6 separate regions of the Homo sapiens genome follow, and regions 1, 3, 4, 5 and 6 are each linked to region 2. The links are contacts of gene promoters, found by promoter capture Hi-C in human tissues and cell types (Jung and others, 2019). All regions are on one chromosome and are shown on one strand. The core of a region is centred on a gene start or on the middle of the fragment in contact, and the rest is flanking DNA. Distances in the headings are between cores, read along the strand shown.

Region 1 (4,604 bases), core at 558-3,057, 170 kb before region 2:
ACTACAATGTACCTGTCTGTTAGACCCCACTCAGAGGTGAGTATACAGTGAAGCATGAAGCTTAAGCTTCAGTGTCCCTCACTTGCCTGGGTCTCTACCCAGGTCTGAGAAAGGCCTTGCGATTTTGTTTTCACAATTTTCTGGGTTTTGTTTCTCTTTCTTTTTCTTTTCTTTTCTTTCTTTCTTTCTTTTTTTTTTTTTTTTTTTGAGAGAGTCTCTATCTGTCACCCAGGCTGAAGTACAGAGACGCAATCTAGGCTCACTGCAACCTCCGCCTCCTGGGTTCAAGCGATTCTCCTGCCTCAGCCTCCTGAGTAGCTGGGATTACAGGCACCTGCCACCAAGCCTGGCTAATTTTTTTGTATTTTTAGTAGAGACAGGGTTTTACCATGTTGGCCAGGTTGGTCTTGAAAACTCCTGACCTCAGGTGATCTGCCCACCTTGGCCTCCCAAAGTGCTGGGATTACAGGTGTGAGCCACCACACCCAGTCTTGTTTCTTAATAAGCTCTTCCCCATTCCCCAAATTGTATAAACTCTGGGCCCCTCAAAATCTGGCTCAGGTTTGGCCTCTGGGGACCCTCACCCACTCTGATGGCTTTGCCCACCAGCTGCTTGGGCAAAAACCTCTCAGATCCATTCAGTCAGCTAAGCCTGAGCTTTATAGCTCAAGCCACCCTGAGGCATTCTCCCAGCAGTGCCTCAGGACCTCCCGCTCAACACTTTTTCCTTCCCTAAACCAGCTCTTCACCCTGGGTGTTCCCTTTGTTAAATGATATCACTGTCCACCCAGTGGCCCAAGGCAGACATGTGCTGCTCTGTGGAGTAAAATGCCCCTGAGTGTTGAAGAAAATAAGTGAGAATGAGGCACATTTGGTAATCCTGTCGCCAGAAGGCTGGCCCAGGGGAAGGCATGTCTGGGCTCAGGGTCTGAGGGATAGCACCTACCTAAGTGACTCCAGGCAGTAAATGTGATGTAGGGACCTTGGAACTGGCCCCAAAGTCTGATCTCGATGGCAAGGTGTATTAGTCAGGGCTCTCCAGAGAAACAGAATTCACAGGATGTGCGCACACAGACATACATACACGCAGACACACACACAAAATTTATTATGAGGAATTGGCTCACATGATTATGGAGGCTGCGAAATCCCCCACACTGGAGACCCAAGAAAGCTGGCGGTAGAGTTCAGGGCAGTCCAGAGGCCCAAGAACCAGGAGGGCTGATGGTGCATGTCTCAGCCTGAGGGCAGGAAAAGCCCAAGTCCCAGCTCAACCCGTCAGGCAAAGAAAAGGGACACATTCTCCCTTCTTCCACCTTTTGTTCTATTTGAGCCTGCAACAGATTGGACGAGGCCCACCCGCACTGAGGAGGCCCGCCTGCCTTTCTCAGTTCACCCATTTAAATGCTCATCTCATCCAGAAACACCCTGGCAGGCACACAAAAAACAATGTTTAGCAGAATATCTGGACACCCCTTGATCTAGTTAAGCTGCCACATAAAATTAACCATCACGGCCAGGCGCAGTGGCTCATGTCTGTAATCCTAGCACTTTGGGAGGCCGAGGCGGGTGGATTATTTGAGGTCAGGAGTTCAAGACCAGCCTGGCCAACATAGTGAACCTTGTCTCTACAAAAAATACAAAAATTAGCCGGGCATGGTGACACGCGCCTGTCCATGTGTCACCCACATGGACAATCCCAGCTACTCGAGAGGCTGAGAAGCATGAGAATCAATTGAATCCAGGAGGTGGAGGTTGCAGTGAGCCGAGATTCTACTACTGCACTCCTTGGGTGACAGAGTGGACTTGGTCTTAAAAAATAATAATAATAATTAACCATCACACAAAGTGGGAAGGAAAGTGGAAACATGTCACCAGGTGAGTACCCAGATAATTGAAAGAGGTGCAGGCCAGGCGCAGTGGCTCATGCCTGTAATCCCAGCATTTCGGAAGGTCGAGGCAGGTGGACCACTTGAGGTCAGGAGTTCAAGACCAGTCTGACCAACAAGGGGAAATCCTATCTCTACTGAAAATACAAAATTAGCCTCGCATGGTGGCACATGCCTGTAATCCCAGCTACTTGGAAGGCTGAGGCAGGAGAATTGCTTGAATCCGGGAAGCAGAGGTCGCAGTGAGCTGAGATTGCGCCATTGAACTCCAACCTGGGCAACAAGAGCAAAACTCTGTGTCAAAAAAAAAAAAAAAAAAGTGCAGTCCAGTGGCAGGAAGAAGTTGAGAATGAGTCAGAGGTGAGGCTTTGAGTGCACATGTGGCCTGGAGCTCCCTCTGCCTCTTTCTTTTGGGGGTTCCCCTTTTGCATGGCACCTGTTGCTCACAGGATGGTATCTAAATTTAAATTCCCTCCAAACAGATCCTGAGACAAGGATTGGTTCAAGCAGTTTATTTGGTGATGATCCAGAAAGCACAGGGAAGGAAAGGAAAGTGAGGCAAGAAGGGAGGGAAAGTCAATCAAGGGGGGAGATGGTCAGGTCTTCAGTCTTCGCTGAGGGCAACCAGGGCTCAGCCCCCTGGGAGCCTCTGCAGGAGGATGTGGAGGTGCAGCTCAGAACTGTCCCATGCAGAGTGAGGAGCATAGCGTGTTTATCCCCCAACTCTTTTCCCTCATTGGTTGAGGGTCACTCCTAGGATGTTCACTTCCTGGCACTTCCGACTTGCTCTGTGTGCCAAGCCAAACAAGCCCCTGCAGCCAGAGAGAGGGGAGCTCATGGCTTGTTTGAGAGTGATCTGCAGTGAGCTCTGGGCCGTGGAATGCTGCGGGCCAGGCATTGATTGCTCCTAAAGGCTGGCCGCCTTCCCTTTGGTGCAACCAGTCTGTGGGAATGCCTACCTACTCAACCTTGATGGTGGGAAGTGAGGGGGGCACACCTCTTCTCCTCGGGTCACTAAATGGCTTCTGGGGTCGTGCCATGGCCAGGAGCAGGAATAGTGCAGGCTGAGAGGAGACTCACCAGCTTTGAGTTGACAGACCTAGATTTAAATTCTGGAATCACCTCTGGAAAGCCTGTTGCAATTTCCTTATTTTTGGAGCCTCGGTTTTCTCCTGTGTGAGGTGGGGCTAGGCCCAGCATCTGCTCTGCAGGCCTGTTGTGAGAATCACAATGGATCCCCATCAGCCCCTGTCCCCTAGTGGTTGTTGATGAATAGCAACAGGGATTGGAGGATTCTGCTGACTCAGTGGCTTCCCCCTGCCAGCCCTGACCTTGGCCTGAGGGCTTCCCCCAGTTCCCAGCTCCTGCTGCCGCTCAGCTCTAACTCTCCTTCCTTCGCGTCTGTTTAAAGTGGGCCTTCCAGGGTAAAAAGTCCATTCTGTGCAGGCTGCAGGAATCACCACGTCTGCTGGACAAGGACATCAATGTCTTTGAAGTGTCCTGGCTGGCAGAATTCCCTGCCGTTTTGCAGCAGCATGGTTCTCTCTTCTCAGCTCATGGAATGACAAGCTTGCAGGAGGCCTCAGTGGCCTTGGCAGCTGGCCAGTGTTTAGACAGTTTCTTGTACTGTTTTAATAAGAGGCATGGTGGAACTGGGCCTTTGCCTCATTACCTCTCCTGTGACTGGGCAGCCTGGCAGCATGGAAGCCCGTCATCTGGAGCTGCGTGCAAAGCTCCCCTCAGCTCCTGAAGAAGCTTTATAGGTGAGGAACCTTCCAGAAAGCACCAGGGCTCTCTGTGCCCTCCCTTTTTTTGTAGGCAGTTTTCTTTTGAATTGCCTTTTTGGGCTTCTGAGCCTCCAGGATGGCTTTGGAAAACATTTGCCCTGGAATGTTATCTCTCACCAACATCCATAAACCATAAACCATAAAAGAGACAGAATGGCCCTCACATGTTATTTTGGAGACTTAGAGAGATTAAGTGACTTTTGCCCAGTTGCACAACCAGTTAGTGACAGAATCAGAGCTAGACCTTAAGTTTGCTGACTTCAAGTCTTCCAGTATCTGGGTTGTGTTAGAGTCCAGGTGAGGGTGAGACTCACCTGAACCCACCTTCCTATCTTTTGAGGATTCATGAGATGAAGACTGACTGAGGCAGCACCACATGTAGCTCAAGCCAGAAACAAAGGTGTTACCTCCCTTCCCTACCCCAGACCCCCAAGCACAGGGCAGGGTCTGTGGGTGGTATAATCTAGTTTCTGTGCTACAAGTTTAGGAAGCAATAAATGACACCAGGGAACTTAAAAAGAGGGAGGAGCATAGTGAAAAGGGCCAGAATCTCTCAGTCTTGGGCCTAATTAACTGTGTGATCTTGAACAAGTCACTTCCCTACTTCAGGCTTCTGGTCACTTGAAGAGGAATGGGTGGATTGAGCTGGCCACCTCCTTGTAGTTCTGGAATTCTGTCCATCCATTCCCTCATCCATCCTTCCATCCATGCATGTATCCATCCATCCATCCATCCATCCATCCATCCATCCACCCTTCCATGTAGGTATCAAGCCATCCATCCATATTTCCATCCATCTACCCATCCATCCATCCATCCATCCATTCATCCATCCACCCACCCACCCATCCATCCATCCATCCATCCACCCACCCATCCATGCATGTATACATGCATCCATCCATCTGCTCATCCATCTCTCCATTCA
Region 2 (4,464 bases), core at 1,106-3,605:
CTTGGCTGTATCAGATTCTTAAAGAGACCTGGGAGCAAAACATTTGCAGAAGGAGGGCGAGGGCGGAACTAAGCAAAGACTCGAAAAGGCACACTGCTCGCTTTTTAAATGGCCCCAAAAGCAGATAGGCCTCTGTTTCCTCTCCCCCTTTAACCTGGCCACAAAGGGAGATTCTGGCTGGGTGCGGAGGGGGTTGTTCTGACGAGAGTTTGATTAGAACGGGAGCAATAGAAGTTCGCCGTCCTGGAATCGCTTGAACCTGGGAGGCGGAGGTTGGAGTGAACTGAGATCGCGCCATTGCACTCCAGCCTGGGCGACAAGAGCAAAACTCCGTCTCAAAGAAGAGGAAGAGGAAGAAGAAGGAGGAGGAGGAGGAGGAGATGAGGAGGAGAGGAGGAAGAGGAGGATGAGGAGGAGGAGAAAAGAGGAAGAAAAAGAGGAAGAGGAAGAAGAAGAAGAAGAGGAAGAAGAGGAAGATGCTGTTGTTCGCTGTCCTGGCTGGGCTACCAGCAAGGTATTTGCCCTACAGCCTTGCTCAGCCTCAGCGAGCTGAGCTTCAAAATTGGGTCTTAAGGTCTTCTATCCTTGTACCCTCTCGGGCAAACCTCCGGAGGCCCCGGTGCACCGCGCGTCCAGCCGGCCCAACTCGAGCTAGAAGCCCCAACCACTGCCCAGTGCCTGAGTTGCAGTCTTGGGTCCTTTAGAAACCTGGAGATGTGCGTAAAATTCAGATGCCGGTATTCCCGAACTTCCCCAGGCCTCAGCATATCTCGGCGGCCTGTGGACAGATGGGAGGCTACCAATCGCTCCGGCGTCCGCAGCCCGACCCCTGCCGCCAGACCCCGGACGTCTTCCGGATAATAAAGTTCCCGCTCTAATTCATTTTCCCTAATCTGGACGCCCCTAATCTACAGCTTTTATTGCGCCCAGTTAAAAGTCGAGGGAATTCGCTGTCCCTCCGCGCTCGGATAATTACCCCTAAATGGCCACGGCAGCCCCTTGTGTTTCCTGGAGATTAGAACCCCGCAGTCATCAATGGCAGGGCCGAGTGAGCCGCCAATCACCTCCGCTCACTCCCTGAGAGCCGCTGGCCTGGGCCGCAGGAGGAGAGGCCATAAAGCGACAGGCGCAGAAAATGGCCAAGCCCCGACCCCGCTTCAGGCAGATCTTGCATCTCCCCTGACCCCAACTCATTTTTTCTGTCTTTATTATTATTATTATTATTAACAGCAAACATTAAATCACGTTTTCTCCGAAATTGGCAAAAGAAGAGTTCTCAAGTCCCACACTAGAGTCCACCTCCAGGAACTTTCCTCTTTTCCCAGCCCCCTCCCCCAAATGTGCCTCTCCCCTCCAGGATCAGCGGCCCAGAGATAGGGACATGTCATTGTTTCCGAGGACGCGTTGTTTGAGGTCACCTTAAGGCCAGATCGGTGTTTCATTGACGATTCTGTTGGTTTTATTTCAGTAAGTTCTATATCAAAAGGATCTGGCAGCTCCTTTCCCCGCCCGGGCGCTATAGGTGTTGTGACCCTTGGGACAGAAGTTCAGAGCGAGGGTGGGGGGGGGGGAATACACATCGTGTATGAAAACCGACTGCAGATTCTAGATAATCTTACGTATTCTCACATCCTTGGCACTACAGGAAGCTAGCTTCTTCCCGCAAGGTTTACTCCAGCTCTAAGTTAGAGACAAAGGCCCACTTTTACCTCGAGGTAAAGTTTACAAGATTTCAGAACAGGAAGAAAATGAAGGTTTGGTTTTGTTTCGTTTCTTGAAAAGAAGTTAATAGTATGTCTTTCTCCTAGGATAAATAGCCATGCGTATTTTAAAAACTATATATAAAAGGAATGTGTAAGAAATAACCTCAACTCAAATTATTGTGGTAGAAGAAGAGGGGGGGTCAGACAGTGGAGGGGGGCACAGGGAAACCCAGCCACAGACTAAAGAGAAAGGTAAAAGAAGCAGTAGAGGAGAGAAACAAGGACGGGGAAAAAAAGAGGAGCGGAAAAGAGGGCTGAGGAGGGGAGGGGAGGGGAGGAGAGGAGGGCAGAAGAGAAGGAACGAGAACAAGGGAAAATCCCCCGGGAACACAGAAAGATAGAGACCCAGGGGACTCCCGCAGAGAGGGCCTCTTGGGCTTCAGCGCAGAGGAAAGTTTCCCGGGCACCCCCTCTCCTCCCCTGCCCTCCGCCGCCTGGGCCCTGCCCTGCGTGCCCCCAGGCCCAGCGCGCCTCCGGGCGAGTCCCCAGGAGCGCGGCCCAATGGATCGCTCCGGGCCCGCCCCCTCGCGCGCTGATTGGCCGCCGCCCCGCTGGCCTCGCCTTATTAGCAAGTTCTCTGGGGAGCCGCGGTAGGGCCCGGAGCCGGCGAGTGCTCCCGGGAACTCTGCCTGCGCGGCGGCAGCGACCGGAGGCCAGGCCCAGCACGCCGGAGCTGGCCTGCTGGGGAGGGGCGGGAGGCGCGCGCGGGAGGGTCCGCCCGGCCAGGGCCCCGGGCGCTCGCAGAGGCCGGCCGCGCTCCCAGCCCGCCCGGAGCCCATGCCCGGCGGCTGGCCAGTGCTGCGGCAGAAGGGGGGGCCCGGCTCTGCATGGCCCCGGCTGCTGACATGACTTCTTTGCCACTCGGTGTCAAAGTGGAGGACTCCGCCTTCGGCAAGCCGGCGGGGGGAGGCGCGGGCCAGGCCCCCAGCGCCGCCGCGGCCACGGCAGCCGCCATGGGCGCGGACGAGGAGGGGGCCAAGCCCAAAGTGTCCCCTTCGCTCCTGCCCTTCAGCGTGGAGGCGCTCATGGCCGACCACAGGAAGCCGGGGGCCAAGGAGAGCGCCCTGGCGCCCTCCGAGGGCGTGCAGGCGGCGGGTGGCTCGGCGCAGCCACTGGGCGTCCCGCCGGGGTCGCTGGGAGCCCCGGACGCGCCCTCTTCGCCGCGGCCGCTCGGCCATTTCTCGGTGGGGGGACTCCTCAAGCTGCCAGAAGATGCGCTCGTCAAAGCCGAGAGCCCCGAGAAGCCCGAGAGGACCCCGTGGATGCAGAGCCCCCGCTTCTCCCCGCCGCCGGCCAGTGAGTAGCCAGAACCCAGGCGCAGAGGGAGGGGGCCGGGTGGGGGCCGGGTGGGGTGTGGGACCCGAGGGCTCCTGGTGGCCTCCGGCGCCTGCGTACCTGCAGCCGGTGCTAGGGAGCCGTGGGCTGCAAGGCCGGGTCTTGCGCCTCCCTCCACTCCCACCCAGGAAGAAGGTTCCAGACCTCCTCGCCTTGGCCCAGAGACGCTGCGGGTGGGAGTTAACGGATAGGACACCGATGTCTGGGCACCCTGTCCTCCTGCCCCCACCAAACGACCTCAGGGGTCCATGATCCCTCATCTGATCCCAAACTCTGTTTCATCGGCTTCACCCCAGCGGATGAATGTGTGTGGTGCGGTATCTTCCCTGCACCCGGAGTTTCACTTTCTCGCAGTAGGAGCTGGTGTCCCCCAGCCCCTCTTCCCTTTCAAGTACCTCTTTGCCTAGAGGTTCCGAAGCTCCTACAGAATTCTACCTCCCCATGCCCTTTGAGTTTGAGGCAGATAGTTGGTGCTTTGGGCGGATGGATGATTCAGGGGTGGGGACATTCAGGTTCCAGTGGAGGGGGCGGGGCACCAAGTCAATTAGGGGAAGGCGCCCCCGCTAATCCTATGGGAAGCTCCCAAACGTCTAGGACTGAGCCATTAAAGTGGACTCCAGGTGCCCAAGGCGGTTCGCTCCAAGGCCTCACGGCCCCCTGGCTGCTCTACTCAGAGAACACGCTCGGAGATATTTCAGGAGCACGGGAAATTCCCAAGTTTTCCTCGTTTCCTCCGATTATTTTGCTCGGCATAATAGCAGCCAGATTTCAATGGCGTGATGCTGAGGAATGATTTTTATCTGGGGATTAAACGTCTTTGAAAGGCCAGTCCCTCCCTAAGCCTAATGGCCGGAGAAGGTGGCCCCGCTCTGGGTTGTCGCCGCTGAAGGGAGTGACGTTTCTCTCGGCGCCCGCCCCTCGGGCGGCCCGGCGGAAAGCTAGTTGGGGGCCAAGCGCTTCCCGGACTCCCGGTGGCCTCCAGCAGGGAAGAAGCGGGGTGTTAACACGAGATTTCGTTTGACTCACATCCTGGTGGTCTGAAAGTCCAAAGGATCGTTGTGTTTTCTTTGTTTTGTTTTGTTTTTTCTGTTTGTTTGTGGTTGTTTTTTAGAGAGGTGTGAAAAAATGCATACTTAGGCAAAACCCGCGTGGTGAAACATCTTCGATTTGAATTCACTTTCTGCCGGGAAAGCTGCTGCATAGGCAAAGTGTCCTTTCCAACGCTTAGGGCCTTGGGCCCCAAGACCCCGAAGTCAAAGCGATCCCGGCTGTGTTGGGATAATTTGTTCCACATTTTATCCGGGGGCAGTCCCCAGCAGACCCCATCCCCGACCTGCACTAGTCCTGCGCTCTGATGCTTCTTCAC
Region 3 (3,970 bases), core at 1,134-3,633, 250 kb before region 2:
GTGCATATGGGTAGGAAGGGAAAAGGAGAAGAGAACAGCAAGTATATCCCAAGAGGTGCCTTGTGGTCAGGCCTCCTGGAAAGGGTATGGTGTGCCGAGTCAATGCAGAAGGAAGGACAGACAGGCTGCCCAAGCCCTGCGCAGCTCATGTAGCGCCAGGTGGCCTGGAGTGGCTTAAAGGTACAGCCTCCGCAGCCCTCCAGAGCAGCTGGATCAGGAAGCCCAGTGTCGGTGGGGTCTTTACTTAAGCAGACAGAATAGTTATCCTCAACACGTGACATGTGTCTAGCCCCCACTGTGTCTGCTCGCTCCAGCCAAGTGCTTGCAAAGTAATTTTATTCCAGGTTTGGGTCCTTTTATGAATGAGTAAACGAGCTTGGCAAGGTTGAATGACCTGCCCACGGGCACTTAGCCAAGACGCAAGCCCCATCTGCTTGCTTCCACACCGTCTGGAAGCCTCACTGGCTGGGTTCAAAAAGGGAGGGGCCAGGCACAGTGGCTCACGCCTGTAATCCCGGCACTTTGGGAGGCCGAGGCAGGCAGATCACCTGAGGTCAGGATTTTGAAACCAGCCTGGCCAACGTGGTGAAACGCTATCTCTACTAAAAATACAAGAATTAGGTGGGCGTGGTGGCGTGCACCTGTAATCCCAGCTACTCAGGAGGCTGAGGCAGGAGAATCACTTGAGCCTGGGAGTGGGAGGTTGCAGTGAGCTGAGATTGCGTCACTGTGCGCTTGGGTGACAGAACAAGACTCCGTCTCAAAAAAAAAAAAAAAAAAAAAAAGAGGGAGGGCTCCTCTCCAGACATCAGGCTAGTTTTGTGCATCCCAAAGGGAGGAAAGTGCTTTCTGATATTGTACTTCCTTTGCAAGACCTGGACTTAAAGTTTGGGTCCTTGGGGATTGCCAAAACCTCTTGAAAATGTAATCTGTAAGTATCTATTAACATTGAGAAATACACATTCCCTTTGATCCAGCAATCCCACTTCTGGGAATCTCTCCCACAGAAATGAAAACCCCAAAATATAAGGACATAGGAACAGGATGTTTATTGCCACACTGTTAGTGGTGGCAGAAACCTGGAAGCAATCTGAAAGTCCACCGGAACTGGAAAGGTTAAATACGTTATGATACATGGCTTTTTGGAATACCAGTCTTTCCAAAATTAGATTTCTACATAATTATCTGGAGGGCTCTTCCTGACATGTTATTAAGTAAAACAAACAAACAAATAACCAGATAACCACCCCCTGAAGTTGGCCAGTAATATGAATTATACAATGCCTCTTAAAAAAAAGACAAGTTTTGAAATGTTATCCTATTTTTATTTATGCATAGAAAAGAGGTGAAAGATATTTACAAACGCTCACAGTTGCTTGATTGAGGAGGGATGAAATAGTGTGATTAAGGCCGACATGCACACCACTGGTAGAGCGCTGAATGCTAAGACCCCACCACTGTTTCCTTCCACTGCTTAACGACTGTGGGAGTTGGTAAATATCCTACCCCCACAGAACTTCAGCTTCAGCATCAGTCCAATGGAGCGAATCATCTGCCTGCCTCATAAAGCCTCCCAATATCCATGTTTTAGTGGGAAGACTTATCACTGCATCATCCGTTCATCCATTCATGTGTTCTATAAGCCCTGGCAGAGCAGCCACCATGGCCTGGCCCTGGGAATGGGCAGAGTGGTTTAGAGATAGTGAAGATTTATCCTGTGCCCCCTAGAAATTTGCAGATGTGCCTCCACTGACTACAGAGGAGAGAGAGGGAGGGATGCTGTTGACTTTGAAATCAGAGAGGGCTTCCTGGAGGAGGTGATGTTTCAGCTGGCGCTTAAAGGAGGAGGGAGACTTCACCAGGTGGAGTGTGATACAGATATATATTCTGAACCAAGGGAATAGTTGAGGGTGAGTATGGGGACTTGAGACACAAAAGTATTTTTTGAAATCTGGGAGTAGCTTGCTGTTGCTAGATTTTGCACGGCTGTACATGCCTGGAAATTATTAAGAGTGGAGGCAGGAAGGAGACTGGAGCCAGGTTGCGTAGTGCCTGACACTAGAAAATATAACTAGGAGAGAGAACACACAGGTAGCTGTCAGGAGCCAGCCACGTCTTAACTCAGTGAGTTCTCACAACAGTTTTTGTTGTTGTTGTTGTTTTGTTTTGTTTTGTTTTGTTTTTTGAGACAGAGTCTCACTCTGTCACCTAGGCTGGAGTGCAGTGGCATGATCTCAGCTCACTGCAACCTCTGCTTCCTGGGCTCAAGCAATTCTCATGCCTCAGCCTCCCCAGTAGCTGGGATTACAGGTGTGCACCATCACACCCAGCTAATTTTTGTATTTTTAGTAGAGACAGGGTTTCACCATGTTGGCCAGGCTGGTTTCGAACTCCTGACCTCAAGTGATCCACCTGCCTCGGCCTCCCAAAGTTCTGGGATTACAGGCGTGAGCCACTGTGTCCAGCCACAACATTTTGATGAAAGGGGATTTGTCCCATTGTACAGATGAGGAAATTCAGGCACAGAAAGATTAAGACACTTGCCAAAGGGCAATTGGCCAGCTAGTTGTAGAAAGAGAATTCCAACCCAGGCAGGCGTGCTCCGGAGGATCTTTGGCTATCACGTCCAACTGTCTCTGTGCTGGGCAGGCTGTGCTATTCTCACAGATGGTCTTGACCAGAGATTTTGAGCCCCATGATAACAGCAGCTCTGTCTGTGTTTCTGGTGGCAAATCCAGCATCTACAGTTGAGCCAGATCCCTGGCAGAGACCTGCCCATTCTTCAGACTTGGAAAAAATGAATGAACTTTGTGAGAGAGGGAGTACTATGCCCATTTGACAGATGTGGAAACTGAGGCCTTGGATAATTAACCATCTGCCCAAAGTCTCCCAGGAGATGGCATGCCCAGGATTTCTCTACTTTCCCCATGCTGCTTCACAGGGCTCACAGCAACTCCGTAACATCAAAGGTGTTGCACCTTTCCAGATGGGGAAACTGGGGTCTGAGAAGTCAGGAGCCTGCCTGAGTTCTCATGGTTAAGTGGAAGGAGAGAATGGTCTCATTTGATGATGTTGGATCTGGCCTAATTCCTCAGGCACGTTGTTCTCGAGACACATCTGGATCTGGTTGGGGAAGGCCCCTCGTGTGGAAGGCTTTCTTTCCGAGTGCCTTTTTATAGACTTGGAATGAAATTCTCCTGTGCCTTGCAGATTCCAGCTTGCTGCTTCAAAGATCATTTCTTCTCCAAACGGAAGACAGAGGCTTTTTGTTTATTTTCACAACAGCAGTAGAGACGGGTGTACCTCTCTTAGACATCTCCATTGCTGTTTGAAAATGAGTCTTTACATGGTTGGGGGCAGGAAATAACAGTTGCAATGGGAGAAACATCGTGAGATGTGCTTTAGCTGTGATCTCACTTAATGCTCCTGACATCTCTGCTGGGTAGGTATTATGCCCCCATTTGATAGAATAGGAGACTGAAGTTCAGAGACAGTATGGTTATTGCCCAAGAACAGATGATGGAGGCAGGCAGGCCGTGATGTTGGAATATGTCTTGCACCTGGTACCCTCCTTAGCTGTTTTCTATGTGGCTGCTCTCTGGGTCCAGGATGCTTTCCACCTCTCTTCTGGTCCATTGCACATTCTAGTCTCTGTGCCTCGGATCTTGCCCTCTCCCCAAAGCCTTCCCCTCGCTGCCTCCAGATTTTCCCAAACTATACATCTCTTTAGCCATTCTCCTGCTTAAAACGCCAATGAGTCTCCAAAAGCCTTGGGAGGAAATTCAGTTCATCAGCTCCACTTCTTCTCTTTGGCATTGGAGCTTCTTAAAAATAAGTTTTCGGCTAGGCGCAGTGGCTGACACCTATAATCTCAGCACTTTGGGAGGCTGAGGCGGGTGGATCATGAGGTCAGGAGATCGAGACCATCTTGGCTAACACGGTGAAACCCCATTTCTACTAAAAATACAAA
Region 4 (4,029 bases), core at 85-2,584, 220 kb before region 2:
TGCCTGTTTCTCACTCCTCCACCCCTTCCCTCCCCTCCAGAGTAGCCAGTTCACCTTTAACCAGTTTCTTTCAGGCGCGCAGATGGTATTTCAACTTCAGAGGGAGCGACAGAGTTGGGGGGCCTTTATGGATCTGTGACCCCCGGCTCTTTGAGTTGCACAAACTAGCTCTCCCCCACCCCGGTCCAGCGGCTGCCAGCCCCAGCCCCCTTCAAAGGCCGGCTGGGTGCCACGCAGCAATTTCCGCTGCCGAATCTGACAGTGACAGTTCACTGGGACCTTCTCTCGCTCTCTCTCTCTGTTCTCCGTGCTGGGGCCTTCTCAACTTTAAGTCTGATAGGGTCTTGTCACAAAGTCTGGCTGGAATGGGCTGAAGGGAGACAGAAACTGATAAATTTTCTTTTGATCTCAGATCTGCAAAGCCGCTCAGAAAAAATAAATCGCAACAGTGGGCCCACGGTGGTTGGTCAGAGCCAGAGAAGCCAGAAAAGGTTCCTTCTCCAGCTCAGGGTTCCCTGATTCCCCCTGGTACATTACATATCAAAAGGAGGCGGGTGCGCTGGGGAGGGATCCCTGGCTCAGAACAGGGCAAGGAACCTAATTAGGTGAAAATCATTTAAATGGTTTTCACAGCATCGTTTGATTTAAAGCATTTATCACCACCTAACGCATAATTAACAGCAGGACAAGCGATTGAACAAAGGCTCTCTTCTACTCAGAGGGATTATGTTAATTTTCATTAATCTTATATATTACCATCTCTTTCCAAATGAATGTTATCTTAAAGGCCCAAATGCCTTCTTTGATCTTGGGGAAAGGAAAAAAAGAGAGAGAGAGAAGAAAAGATTGTAACCTATGTTTGTTTGGAAATGACATTTTAACAACAGGCTCCAAGTACAGGATCAGAAGTTTTTGGTATTCAAGAGTTAATCCAGCCACAAAAAGAAGGAAATTCTGTGTGGAGGAATCAGGCGCTGCGCTTGCCTGGAAACACAGGATTGGGCCAGATGGGTTGTCTGAGGTCTCCTTTAGTTTGATTGTTTATTATGGTTCTAAGGGAATATACTCAGATTCTGCCATAACATTCTCACGTTGTTGGACGTGTCTGCCCCTTGCCATCCTAGCCCAGAGAGTCCCTTACAATAATTTTAATTTAAAAAAAAAATTAGTGAAGACAAGTAGTTATAGAAACTGGCTTAATATGAATAATAACCACACACTGTGCTCTTCATCTGATAATTAATTACTTGACCTGTATTATGTCATCAAATCCATACCACAGCTTGATTGTCATCCTCACATTGCAGATGAGGCAACTGAGCCATGGGGGAAACTGAGGTAGCTTGTCTCAGTTAATATTCGGGATACTCACCCAGGCAGGTGGCCTCTAGAGCCTGTTCTCTTGGCTGCTGGACTGCGCGGCCCGCCTGCGTGGTTGGTCAGGAATCTTGCTGTAACCCGTCTGTCTGGGCTCCCATCTCAGCTGTGTCCCCAGCTTCGTGTGCAAACTTGGGCCAGTGTCTGTGCCTCTGGGGCCTCAGTTTCTTCATTACCAACTTCCAGAATATCGGTCTCCACGCTGGGCTAACAGCTTGCATTTATGGAATGCTTTGTTGAATGCTGGTGCTGTTGTTTCCCCATTTCACAGATGAGGAAACTGAGATCTTAGAGGCCCTGCCAGGTTCGCACGCTGTGAGTTGTGTAGCTGGGATTTGAACCCAGATCAGCAGATGCTGAGCCTTTTCTTAATCTTTATGATCTGTTGACTCACAAAATCCAACTAGGGGCATTTCTAGCTTTAAATATTTTTTTTTTTTGTCTTTCTTTTTTTTTTTTGAGACAGAGTCTTACTGTTAGAAATGCTTGTTCCTAGGTGCCATAAAGAAATAGCACTTGAACATAAGTTTAATTTCCTCAGCAAGGCCTTTTTTTCCTTTTTTTACTTTCTGTAGAAAGGGTACACTCGTCAGCAGTTTTGCCACGAGAGTGCACCGAACAAAGGAGACAGGGTCATTTATAACCTGACGTGTCCACCTTACTGCTGTGTCCAGTTTCCATTGGCTGGAACCGGGCTTCACATTCTGTATTTGTCCTGATTGTTTTGTGCAATGTTGAGAAAGGTAAAAACCTTCAAATGAGGAAGAGGAACATGCTATGACCTAATGCTTGCTTGGACCAGTATAAGCATGCCAGGGCAAATATTTAGGCTAAATTGTGGGAGCCAAGAACATAAAGTACATTGATTTCTTTATTACGGCTAGCAGATATTTAAGAATGTTAGCACAGGTCTTTGAATAAATTTTGCTTCTGAGAGAAGTTACTATTTATTCTTAATTCGATGGGGAGGAAAGCCTTTGAAGAGGAAACTCTACTTTTTGCATTGCTCTATCACCCAGGCTTGAGTGCAGTGGCACAATCTCAGCCCACTGCAACCTCTGTCTCCCAGGTTCAAGCGATTCTCCTGCCCCAGCCTCCAGAGTTGCTGGGACTACAGGCGTGCACCACCACGCCTGGCTAATTTTTGTATTTTCAGTAGAGTTGGGGTTTCACCATGTTGGCCAGGCTGGTCTCGGACTCCTGACCTCAGGTGATCTGCCTGCCTCAGCCTCCCAAAGTGCTGGGATTACAGGCATGAGTCACCACGCCTGGTCTCTAGCTTTAAATAAATAGGATTTCTATGGGGTGGGGGATGGGGGGGATTGTGTTAGATCTATTCAGTATCTTGACTGTGGTGGTAAATACACAAATCTATCCTGATGAAATTGTGTAGAATTTAATACACAGACACTAATACAAGTAATATTGGGAAAGTATGAATAAGATTGGTAGATTAAATCAATGCCAATATCCTGATTGTGATATTATGCTATGGTTTTGAAAATGTTACATGGGTGAGCAAAGTGCATAAGGAGTCTTTCTGTATTATTTCTTACAACTTCACATGAATCCACAATAATCTCAATCAAAACATCAATTTAAAAAATAGAAATGGGTTGGGCATGGTGGCTCATGCCTATAATCCCAGTATTTTGGGAGGCCAAGGCAGGCAGATTGCTTGAGCCCAGGAGTTTGAGACCAGCCTGGGCAACATGGAAAAATGCTGCCTCTACAAAAAATACAAAAATATTAGCTAGGCATGGTGGTGTATGCCTGTGGTCCCAGCTACTTGGGAGGCTGAGGTAGGAGGATCACTTGAGCCCAGGAGGCAGAGGTTGCAGTGAGCTGAGATTATGCCACTTCACTCCAACCTGGGCGACAGAGCCAGACCCTGTCTCAAAAATAAATACATAAATAAATAAACTAAAAAATATAGAGGATTCTCTCTATAAACACACTGAGTAACTTTATTGTGTGTATGTGAAATGTTTGGAATAAACATAAGACCTGGTTCTTGCCCTAGAGGAATGTACTGAATTAATCATAATAGTAATAATTTTTAAATGACTACCATTTATTGAGTGACATGTGTCAGACACAGTCCTGAAGTGCTATATTAATTTCATCAGCAATCTTTTTTTTTTTTTTTTTGAGATGGGGTCTTGCTCTGTTGCCCACGCTGGAGTGCAATGCAACAATCAAGGCTCACTGCAGCCTCAACCTCCTGGGCTCAAGCGATCCTCCCACCTCAGCCTCTCAAATAGCTGGGACTACCGGCATGCACCACCATGTTCAGCTAATTTTTGTATTTTTTTTTTTTTTTTTTTTTTTGTAGAGACAGGGTCTCGCCATGTTGCTCAGGCTGGTCTTGAACTCTTGGGCTCAAGGAATCCGCCTCTTTCCACCTCCCCAAGTGCTGGGATTAAAGGTGTGAGCCACCACGCCCAGCCCATTATCACTTCTTTACAAGTGGAAGAAACTGAGCTTCAAAGAGGTTAAAACTTGCCCAAGATCACCCAGCACATAAGTAGTAATGTTGGTGGGCATGGGTCCAAGCCTCACTCTGGATCCCACTCCTCAGCTGAGCCAGAGTTCCCTGAGCACCTTCTATGCCAGCACATTCCAGTAAAATAGTATCATTCTGCCCTGGCA
Region 5 (4,192 bases), core at 204-2,703, 190 kb before region 2:
CAGGTGTAGAAGCAGGATGGATTCGACAGGGAGGGAGAACAGACTAGCTGAGGGCTGGGGGCTGGCAGGGCATCCCAGTCCCAGTCCAGGAACATGCAAAGACCCAGGGTAGCTGAGGCTAAGCGGATGGGGCCTGGGGGCTGGTGATGAAATGCAAGAGGTAGCCGGACACTCGTGAGCAGGGCTCATATGTCCAGCTGAGCGAGTGCAGGCTTCACTGCTCATACTGAAGCCCTACTATGTGCCAGTAAAGAGAGCAGGCAAAGCTGTGGACAACCTGGTCCCTACTCCCCCTGTTGCTGACAGTGTGCAGGACATGTCACCCCAAGACATAGCACCTCGGAAATGGAGAAAACATCAGAAGCAGGAAGGCCACTGTCTGCCTTTCCCAGGCCTTGCTGTATGACCACTGGCATGAAAGGATTCTCTGACCCACTCCCCTGAAAGTAGAGACCCTCATGTGACAGGTGTCCTGACCTGTACCCAGAGGAAAGGAATGAAGACACAGAACTGCCAAGACGCATCTGAACAAACAGGGCCTTGCTGAGCACCTCCAGTTTAGGACCCTGAGATCACACCCCCTCTCTCCAATCACACGACTGTCCACTCTCCAGCAAACCTAGGCAGAAAAATGCATCGTTTTCCTGTGTCTTTGAGTCTTGATTTCTGAAGGTTCGCATGTCACATAAAACTTAGATGGAATCAATGCATCGCACTTTTCTCTTGTTAATATGTCTTTTCTTATAGGGGTGTCTGCTATGAAGCTTGCCATGGGGGAGGAAAGGGTATAGTTTTCTCCCCCTGCAATGCTCAGAGTGCACTTGGGAAACCATAAGCAGGTGATTATCATTGAGGCTTTAGGAGGTACGTTAGTTTCCTGTGGCTGCTGTACAAAGTGCCACAAACTGGGTGGCTTAAAACAACAGAAATGATTCCTCCCTAGTTCTGGAAGCTGGAAGTGAAATCCACATGTCCTGAGTCCATGTTCCCTCTGAAGCTCTTGGGGGTGGGGGATCCTTTCTCTCCTCTTCCAGCCTCCGTGATTGCTTGTAATCCTTGGCCTTCCTTGGCTTATGGCTGCCATCTCTGCCTCTTTCTTCACATGCCTCCTTCTTTGTCTGTTTCTGTGTCCAAATCTTCCTCTTCTTAACAGGACACCAGTCATGGGATTAGGACCCATCCTAATTGATGTGACCTCATTTTACCTTGATTGCATCTGCAAAGGGCCTATTTCCAAGTAAGGTGACATTCACAGGCACTACAGGCTAGGATTTGAACATATCTTTTGTGGAGACACAATTCAACCTGCAGTAAGATGCTAACCAAGCACACCCCTCTCCTCTGAATCTGCCTGAGCTCTAAATCCACTGAAGTCAGGTGGACAGCACCAAAGTATCCACTGTGCTCTGTCTAGAAGCTGGTGACTGTGTGGGATAAGTGCTGCACCAGTGCACCTCCTCTGGCCACCCCAGAATCAGGCAGGTTCACCCACGCAGTCCAAGCCACCCTGCAAGGCAGGAGGGATGAGAACGGCCATGAATGTCCCTTTCATGGAACCTGGATCTTGCAGCCAGGACAGGAGGTTGCCCTATCCTGAAAATTCCAGATGATGAGCATGGGCTGTGCAGTGCGCAATGGGAACAGAGGACAGACACAGACATCCCCAGACATGGTGCTTGGGTCTGTAGAGGGGTCCACAAAAAGAGACGATTGTAAATGGGACAGATAGGAAGGAGTCAGAAAGAGTGGAAGGTTGCAGCAGTCTTGGCAGAAACCCTGCAGTGAGAACTCCACTGGATGGGGGAACAGCATTCCCCCTGCCCCCCACAACACATTCCCCTCACATCCTTGCTTCTGGGACGTGTTCCTTTCAAATTGTCAAAATGTCAAAAGGAGGCAAGCATGCATGGTCGGTTACGCGTCCAAAATGAAATCGAACAACCCAAGGTCCTCCTGAGAACCAGCTAGGTCCCGACCACTTGCGCATTTGAATCATTTCTGATCTGGGTTTCTGGCCTGGGCTCTGCAGGCCCTAGCACCCAAGGAGGCCAACTCACTGAAGTAGCCTACGCTTCAATGTTTGGCTGTTTGCATTTCTTGACAAAGGAAATTTGTTGGGCTTAAGTTGCCAAGGGTTTGCATCTGGATCCTATGATGTTTGGCTTTGGGAGGGCTGTGCGCAGAACTGGCTCTGGGGCCTCCACCGGCCTCCATGTAATTAACTTAAGTGCTTCGAAGATGAAAGCTTATTTGCCTGATCCTGGATTATGGCATGTGCCGTGAAGGTAGGCAGAGCAGACCTCGCCAGTTATCTCTCGCTATTGAAGTTTCCAAAGAAACCAGTGGTGGACAGTGGAAGTCAGGAAGTTTGGGCATGTTGGAATTTATTAAATTTGCAGTTAAAAAAAAAAAAAAGTTCTGGTTGCCAGCACAAAGAGGTTAAGTGGAAACAACTTTACATAATGAAGTGGTTAATCATATTTTGCTTTAGAAACACTAATATCATAAATTGGCCTCATACTTTTGTGCTTCCAGTTTCAACAATAGAGCAAAGACATTAATTTCCTGGTTTGGTATAACTTCTGGGATTTTCCTTCTGGGCCTCCTCCTCCTTCTCCTCCCTTCTCTCCCCCCTCAGCTGGAGTGAGGAAGATAGCTTTGATCCTAGATGCTCTGGAGGCCTGGGGGAGGTGAAAGGGGGGATGGTGAGGATTCCTACAGGTGATTTTTAGGCCTGAATTCCATTGTGACAGCAATGATTTATTTTAACTACTAACCCAGGAAAGCAGGCGCCACCAGGATGAATACCTCCATCAGCTTCTAGCAGACTAATTTTACTGTTTATGAATCACTAATATGTTTAAGAAAAAAAAAGGGAGTACTATTTTAGATAACTAAAAGTAAGACTTCGAGAAAAGACCTCATGGTGCTCAAACAGTTCCACATGGGAAAGATGACTTTGGATTACAAGATAGAGAACACATGGGGTCCAGAGAGCTGCCCCCAACCTCCGCAGCAGGCAGAGGCTACTGGCAGATGAAACACTTTCATCTCTCCCAGGGAGATAAACAGGCCGGTCTGGATGGGCCTCTTTATTTACAAAAGAAAATTAAATCCGTTTTAACACTTGCACCATTCATAGGAAACACATGTTGGCTGGTAATTGTTTTGAACTCATTTTGAGCTGGGCTGCACCACGTTGGGCTGCCCTTGCGTTTTCGCACTGGTTTGAGATGGCCGTGGAATTTGCAAGGAATTTTCTTCCCAATTCCAGAGGCTCCACGAGGGGGCCGTTCCTTGGCCAAGCTGGCAGAAGAGCACTGTTTGGCTTCCTGCCTCCTGGAGGGAAGCACTTTCCCCTTATTGGGAGAGGGCTGCCCCCAGCGCCCCTTGGCCCCGCATTCTTATCGGGAGATTGGAAAGAATCAAAGGGTCTCACGGCCCTAATTGAGCCTGAAGGGCTTCCTTCCCTCCCACCTGGGAGTTTTCTCAGAAGAAGAAATAAAAGGTTGGGTGATTTTCCCAAGAGTTTCTGTTGGAGTTTTACAGCTGCAAGGAGGCGTCATTCCGAATTTGGGTGTCACCCAGCTTTTCGAATGCTAATATGCATACGATTTCCTGGGGATCTCGTGAAATGCAGATTCTGATTCAGTGGGTCGGGGGTGGGGCCTGAGATTCTAACATTCTCGCTGATTGGGCTGATCAGAGTCCCATACATGACGTTCTCAGACCTTCCCTTCCAGCGCATCAGAATCAGGGCTCGTTAAAATGCAGATCGCGGGGCCCCTCCTGCAGAGGCTCTCATTCCACAAGTCTCGGGTGGAACCTGAGGATTTGTGTCTCTAGTAAGCTCCCAGGTCATGCTGATGTTGCTGGTTTGGGGAGAACACTTTCAAACCACTGTCCAAAACCAATGCCCTGAGAAGAAGCGAGCGCGTTTTTCCATGGGGTTCCCTACTGTCCAGGCACCAGGAATGGCTCTGCTTGAGGGCAGAAGATGGGGTTTGACTGAGAAGGTCTAGGCTGCCGTTCTCCATTGGACGTATTTTCTGGAGCTGTTCGCTTACCCTGGAAGGCCCCTTTTCTTCCTCTCTCTCCAAATTGCCTCCCACTCATTTCCAAAGCTCAGTGCCGGCGTCACCTCCTCCAGGGAGCCTTCTTTTCCTCCAGGCCTGAGTTTGTTTCTGCAGTA
Region 6 (3,944 bases), core at 257-2,756, 130 kb before region 2:
ACAGAGAAAATTATTACTTTTCCCATCTGGAAAAAGCATGGCAATTAGGATTTCTGGGCCTCTATCCATTTATCATAAAGAGATGAGGAGGGAACAATATGATAAATAATAGATATTATCAAACTTTCATTTTAGTATCATGGTTGACTTCTGCTGGAAGTTAATAGCTTGGCATTGCTAAGCACACTCCCTAGAAGCCGTTTTTTTTCTTGGCTGATCAATCCAAAAATGGTTTTAAAAGTTTGGAGTGTAGTCTGGTCCTAAGTTAGCTAAGATGGGCTGAGGATTAAGGCACAAATCCAATTTTTCTTTTCTATTAAGAAATAACACTTGTATTAAAACATTATTACAGATTATAAGGGGCATATTAACTTTGCCACTAACCGGTTATGTGACCTTGGAGAAGCAACTCACCTTGGTGTTCTCATTGTGCATGTAAAACACCCACCTCCCAGGGTGAGCGGAGAATTCAATCAGGTGAGAAAATTTATGCAAAGTGCTTTTAGCAGGCCCAAAGCTGATCTGTCTGTGATGGCTTCTGGTTACTAGAAGCTAATCTGGGATTCTTGGCTCCTAAGAGGTGGGCAATTCATCTCAGAGCAGATCATCTTTGTCCAGGAAAGAATCCTTTGGCAGCCTCTCTTGGTTTGTCAGTGCAGTATAAGGCAAATAGACCTTCATTTTTAGACAATGGTGTGGAAGTTACCATCTTGCATACAAAGCCCAGGGACCCAGTCTACTGTCAGGAAAGATGGAGGTCACCTGGTTATGATCTGCAGGTAGAGAAAGCATCAAAGACTGAAGGAGAACTTGTGTGACAGTCAGGAGAGTCAGACTGAAGTCTCAATATAGGGATAGAGGGTTCTTCAGAGACACAGCACCAATAGGATGTGTGCGTGTGTGTGTGTGTGTGTGTGTGCGTGTGTGCATGCAGAGAGAGAGAGAGAGAGATTTATTTTGAAGAACTAACTGACACAATCACAATTATGGAGGCTGGCAAATCCAAAATCTGCTGGGTGGGCCTGCAGGCTGGAGACCCAGGGAAGAGCCAATGTTGCAGTTTGAATCTGAAGACCATCTGCTGTCACTACTCCCTCTTGCTTAGTGGGGAGGTTAATTTTGTGTTCTATTCAGGCCTTCAACTGATTGGACGAGGCTCACTCTCATTATAGATGGCAACATGCTTTACTCAAAGTCCACCAACTTAGATGTCAACATCATCCCCAAACACCCTCATAGGAACATCCAGAAAAACGTTTGACCAAATATCTGGGTACTATGGCCCAGCCAAGCTGTTGTGTAAAATGAACCATCACAGAGTGTTCACAGGGAAGGAGCTGGTTTGGGCAGAAGTTGAGATCTATTCAGAAAATTATTTTGGACCCAGTCACCCTTGCAAATGGTGTGTTTGAGGGAACAACAGCTAAGCAAAAGATATGGGAATGTGAACTGCAAGATTTGTATTGTTGATGCCTAGAGTGAGACAGCATGGTAGCCTCCATAAGTAGGTGCAGCCCAGCAGCAGGAGCAAGTGTGTTAGGCAAGCTGCACAGAGTTTGTCTTCAACAGTGACACCTGTGGCCATGCAAGGCAATGACAGCAGTAAATAGATCAGACTCCGCTTCTCCAAGTGAACCTCAGAAGCAGGAATGACCCCTTCTAGACTGAGCAAGCCTCTAAGTATTTCAAACGATTATGATACAGGTGCAGGGTGGGTTCAGGTGTGTGGAAAGGTGACCTCAGAGGGAAAAGAGCTTCTGCTAGTTGGACACAAAAGCCTTTGGTGATTGACTGGCAAAGTTCAGAGGTGTCCACTGTGCCCGGAGTTGGTAAAACAAAGAATACAGGTTGCTACATAAAAATTAATAAGGGATGACTTCCTCCCCTCACTTTCCAGCATGCATAAAAATAGCAGAAGCTTTAGCAGAGTCCCCCATGCTGTAGGTGACAGAGCTTCAGCAGTGACTTCTTCTTGTTTCCCTTCTGGCTTTTCCCAGGAGGCAGCTTAGGTTTGAAGCAGCATTTCACTTTCCATCTCTAAACAAGTACCATATGTTTACAACTTTGGGAGTTCTCACTCCTCTTTCTGGAGTCAAGGGTGTTCCCTGGGTGGTGAGGGAAAGGGTGTGTGCTTTGGAAGGTCGGGAAGGTGACATTTATCAAGTGCCTGCCATGTGTCAGGACAGAGCTGGCTGGATGTTTAACCTCTATTATATCTTGATGTGTTTTTGATGTGTGCCCCACCCAAATCTCGTGTCGAATTGTAATCTCTAGTGTTGAAGGTGGGCCCTGGTGGGAGGTGACTGGATCACGGGGGTGGATTCTTCATGAATGCCTTAGCGCCGTCCCCTTGGTGCTGTTCTCATGATAGTGAGTGAGTTATCACAAGATCTGGTTGTTTAAAAGCATGCAGCACATCTTCCCTCTCCTCCTCCTGTTCCAGCCACATGAAGACACCTGCTTCTGGTTTGCCTTCCACCATGAGTACAAGTTCCTTGAGGCCTCCCCAGAAGCAGAATCACCATGCTTCCTGTACAGCCTGCAGAACCATGAGACAGTTAAACCTCTTTTCTTTATAAATTACCCAGTCTCACGTATTTTTATAGCAATATGAGAACAGACCAATACATATCTACATATCCTCAAACCACCCGAGGAAGTGGGTCCTCATGACCTATTTTACATGGGGAATTTATAAATTACCCAGTCTCAGGTATTTTTTATAGCAATATGAGAACAGACTAATACATATATACAAATCCTCAAACCACCCGAGGAAGTGGGTCCTGATGCCGTATTATATATGGGGAAGCTGAGGCACAGAGAACTTCAGTAACACATTCATGGTCACCAACCCCACAAGCATCCATCAGAACCTGGAAAGGAGATGATTTTCTGCACCGAAGCTAACCTGGAAATGTATGAATTCTGTGGATACTTTCTTAGGAACCATGGGAATGCTCTCATCCCCCAGAAAGAACCCCTTGGCATGCAGACAAGAGTCTTTCCACCACAACAATTTGCTTTCAGGATTCCTTCTCTGAGGCCAGTGGAGGAACATGGGTAGGATTATTTTTCATGGCTCAGTTACCCAGCAATCTGCAATTGCAAGATGGTGGGAAGGACTCCTCTTACTCTGTGGTAACCTAGAGCAAATCCTGGGCATCTCTCTGAGGACTGGGCTTAGTGACAGGTAATGGGCTTTTCCCACCTCCCCCTCCTGTGCTGTAGAACCTGCAAGTGTACCCTATAACAGATTTCATCACAGAGAATCATATAAAAATAGCAAAACCACTTATGAGCCTGTTTTGGAAAGGAAATAACTTATAGTTTGGGAAAGGTTCCTTATATTAAAATTACCAAGCTGCTTCCTTCCCATAATTTTTTCAAATTTAAATAATTTTATCTCCAAATAAGAAAATCTTGCAGGCATGAGGTAATACTTGCCTAGGATTTGAGGTTAGATGTTCTTGATTAAAAGTCTGATGTACTCTGTACAAGACTGGGCAAGTCAGTGAATTTCTCTCAGCCTCAGTTTCCTCATTTCTGAAAGGGACTGTAATGTCTGTGCCTGGTTGCTGTGAAAGCCAATTGCATTTGGGGAGGTGAAAAGTCCATAAATTGTCAAGAGCTGAACTCATGTGAGGTATTATTATTATTCATAGTAACAATATATAGATCTTAGGATATCATAAGGGAAGTTTTGCCCTTCTGGGGACTGGCTGAGTAGATCACAAAATACATGGCAAAAGGCCGTACGAATTCCTCAATAAAGGGTTCAGAATCAGCACCGAAGGGCACTGGCCAGAACTGAGCTCCTTTTCCCCCTGTGGCTCTGAGCTGGCATGGGTAGGGGCTGGGGTGGCTGAGGCTCCTGCCCCCAATCACCCGGGGCAGCTTTGCAAATTGGGTGGGATGTCATGGCTTGCCACAGAAGTGGGGGT

The links. Contacts are between HindIII fragments. The study calls those that stand out against the background at their distance.
Region 1: a fragment that was not itself captured here is called in contact with the fragment with the promoter of MSX1 in region 2 in 2 of the 25 tissues and cell types used here (mesendoderm cells and thymus).
Region 3: a fragment that was not itself captured here is called in contact with the fragment with the promoter of MSX1 in region 2 in 3 of the 25 tissues and cell types used here (heart left ventricle, mesendoderm cells and thymus).
Region 4: a fragment that was not itself captured here is called in contact with the fragment with the promoter of MSX1 in region 2 in 2 of the 25 tissues and cell types used here (dorsolateral prefrontal cortex and mesendoderm cells).
Region 5: a fragment that was not itself captured here is called in contact with the fragment with the promoter of MSX1 in region 2 in 4 of the 25 tissues and cell types used here (H1 embryonic stem cells, dorsolateral prefrontal cortex, mesendoderm cells and 1 more).
Region 6: a contact is called between a fragment that was not itself captured here and the fragment with the promoter of MSX1 in region 2, in 1 of the 25 tissues and cell types used here (mesendoderm cells).

What each region holds. Positions count from the first base shown.
Region 1 is chr4:4,691,180-4,695,783 of GRCh38, forward strand. All of the region lies in intron 5 of LOC124900165, which reads left to right. The region is part of intron 4 of STX18-AS1 (STX18 antisense RNA 1 (head to head)); the gene reads left to right. Among named protein-coding and RNA genes, the nearest start is that of SNORD162, 29 kb to the left of the region's middle. The HindIII fragment of the contact is 3,488 bases long and covers 64-3,551 here.
Region 2 is chr4:4,857,310-4,861,773 of GRCh38, forward strand. It overlaps MSX1 (msh homeobox 1), which reads left to right and starts at 2,356. Exons shown (of 2, transcript NM_002448.3): 1 at 2,356-3,059. The coding sequence starts at 2,591. RefSeq lists silencers at 2,178-2,237, 2,258-2,497, 2,508-2,947. The HindIII fragment of the contact is 22,824 bases long and covers 1-4,464 here.
Region 3 is chr4:4,612,280-4,616,249 of GRCh38, forward strand. The region is part of intron 3 of LOC124900165; the gene reads left to right. The region is part of intron 2 of STX18-AS1 (STX18 antisense RNA 1 (head to head)); the gene reads left to right. Among named protein-coding and RNA genes, the nearest start is that of LINC03091, 38 kb to the left of the region's middle. The HindIII fragment of the contact is 7,918 bases long and covers 1-3,970 here.
Region 4 is chr4:4,641,842-4,645,870 of GRCh38, forward strand. The region is part of intron 3 of LOC124900165; the gene reads left to right. The region is part of intron 2 of STX18-AS1 (STX18 antisense RNA 1 (head to head)); the gene reads left to right. Among named protein-coding and RNA genes, the nearest start is that of SNORD162, 20 kb to the right of the region's middle. RefSeq lists an enhancer at 143-1,060. The HindIII fragment of the contact is 4,554 bases long and covers 1-3,611 here.
Region 5 is chr4:4,664,189-4,668,380 of GRCh38, forward strand. All of the region lies in intron 5 of LOC124900165, which reads left to right. All of the region lies in intron 4 of STX18-AS1 (STX18 antisense RNA 1 (head to head)), which reads left to right. It overlaps SNORD162 (small nucleolar RNA, C/D box 162), which reads left to right and starts at 138; the gene lies at 138-235. RefSeq lists enhancers at 1,023-1,523, 2,426-3,021. The HindIII fragment of the contact is 3,847 bases long and covers 1-3,377 here.
Region 6 is chr4:4,724,699-4,728,642 of GRCh38, forward strand. The region is part of intron 5 of LOC124900165; the gene reads left to right. Among named protein-coding and RNA genes, the nearest start is that of SNORD162, 62 kb to the left of the region's middle. The HindIII fragment of the contact is 4,671 bases long and covers 1-3,842 here.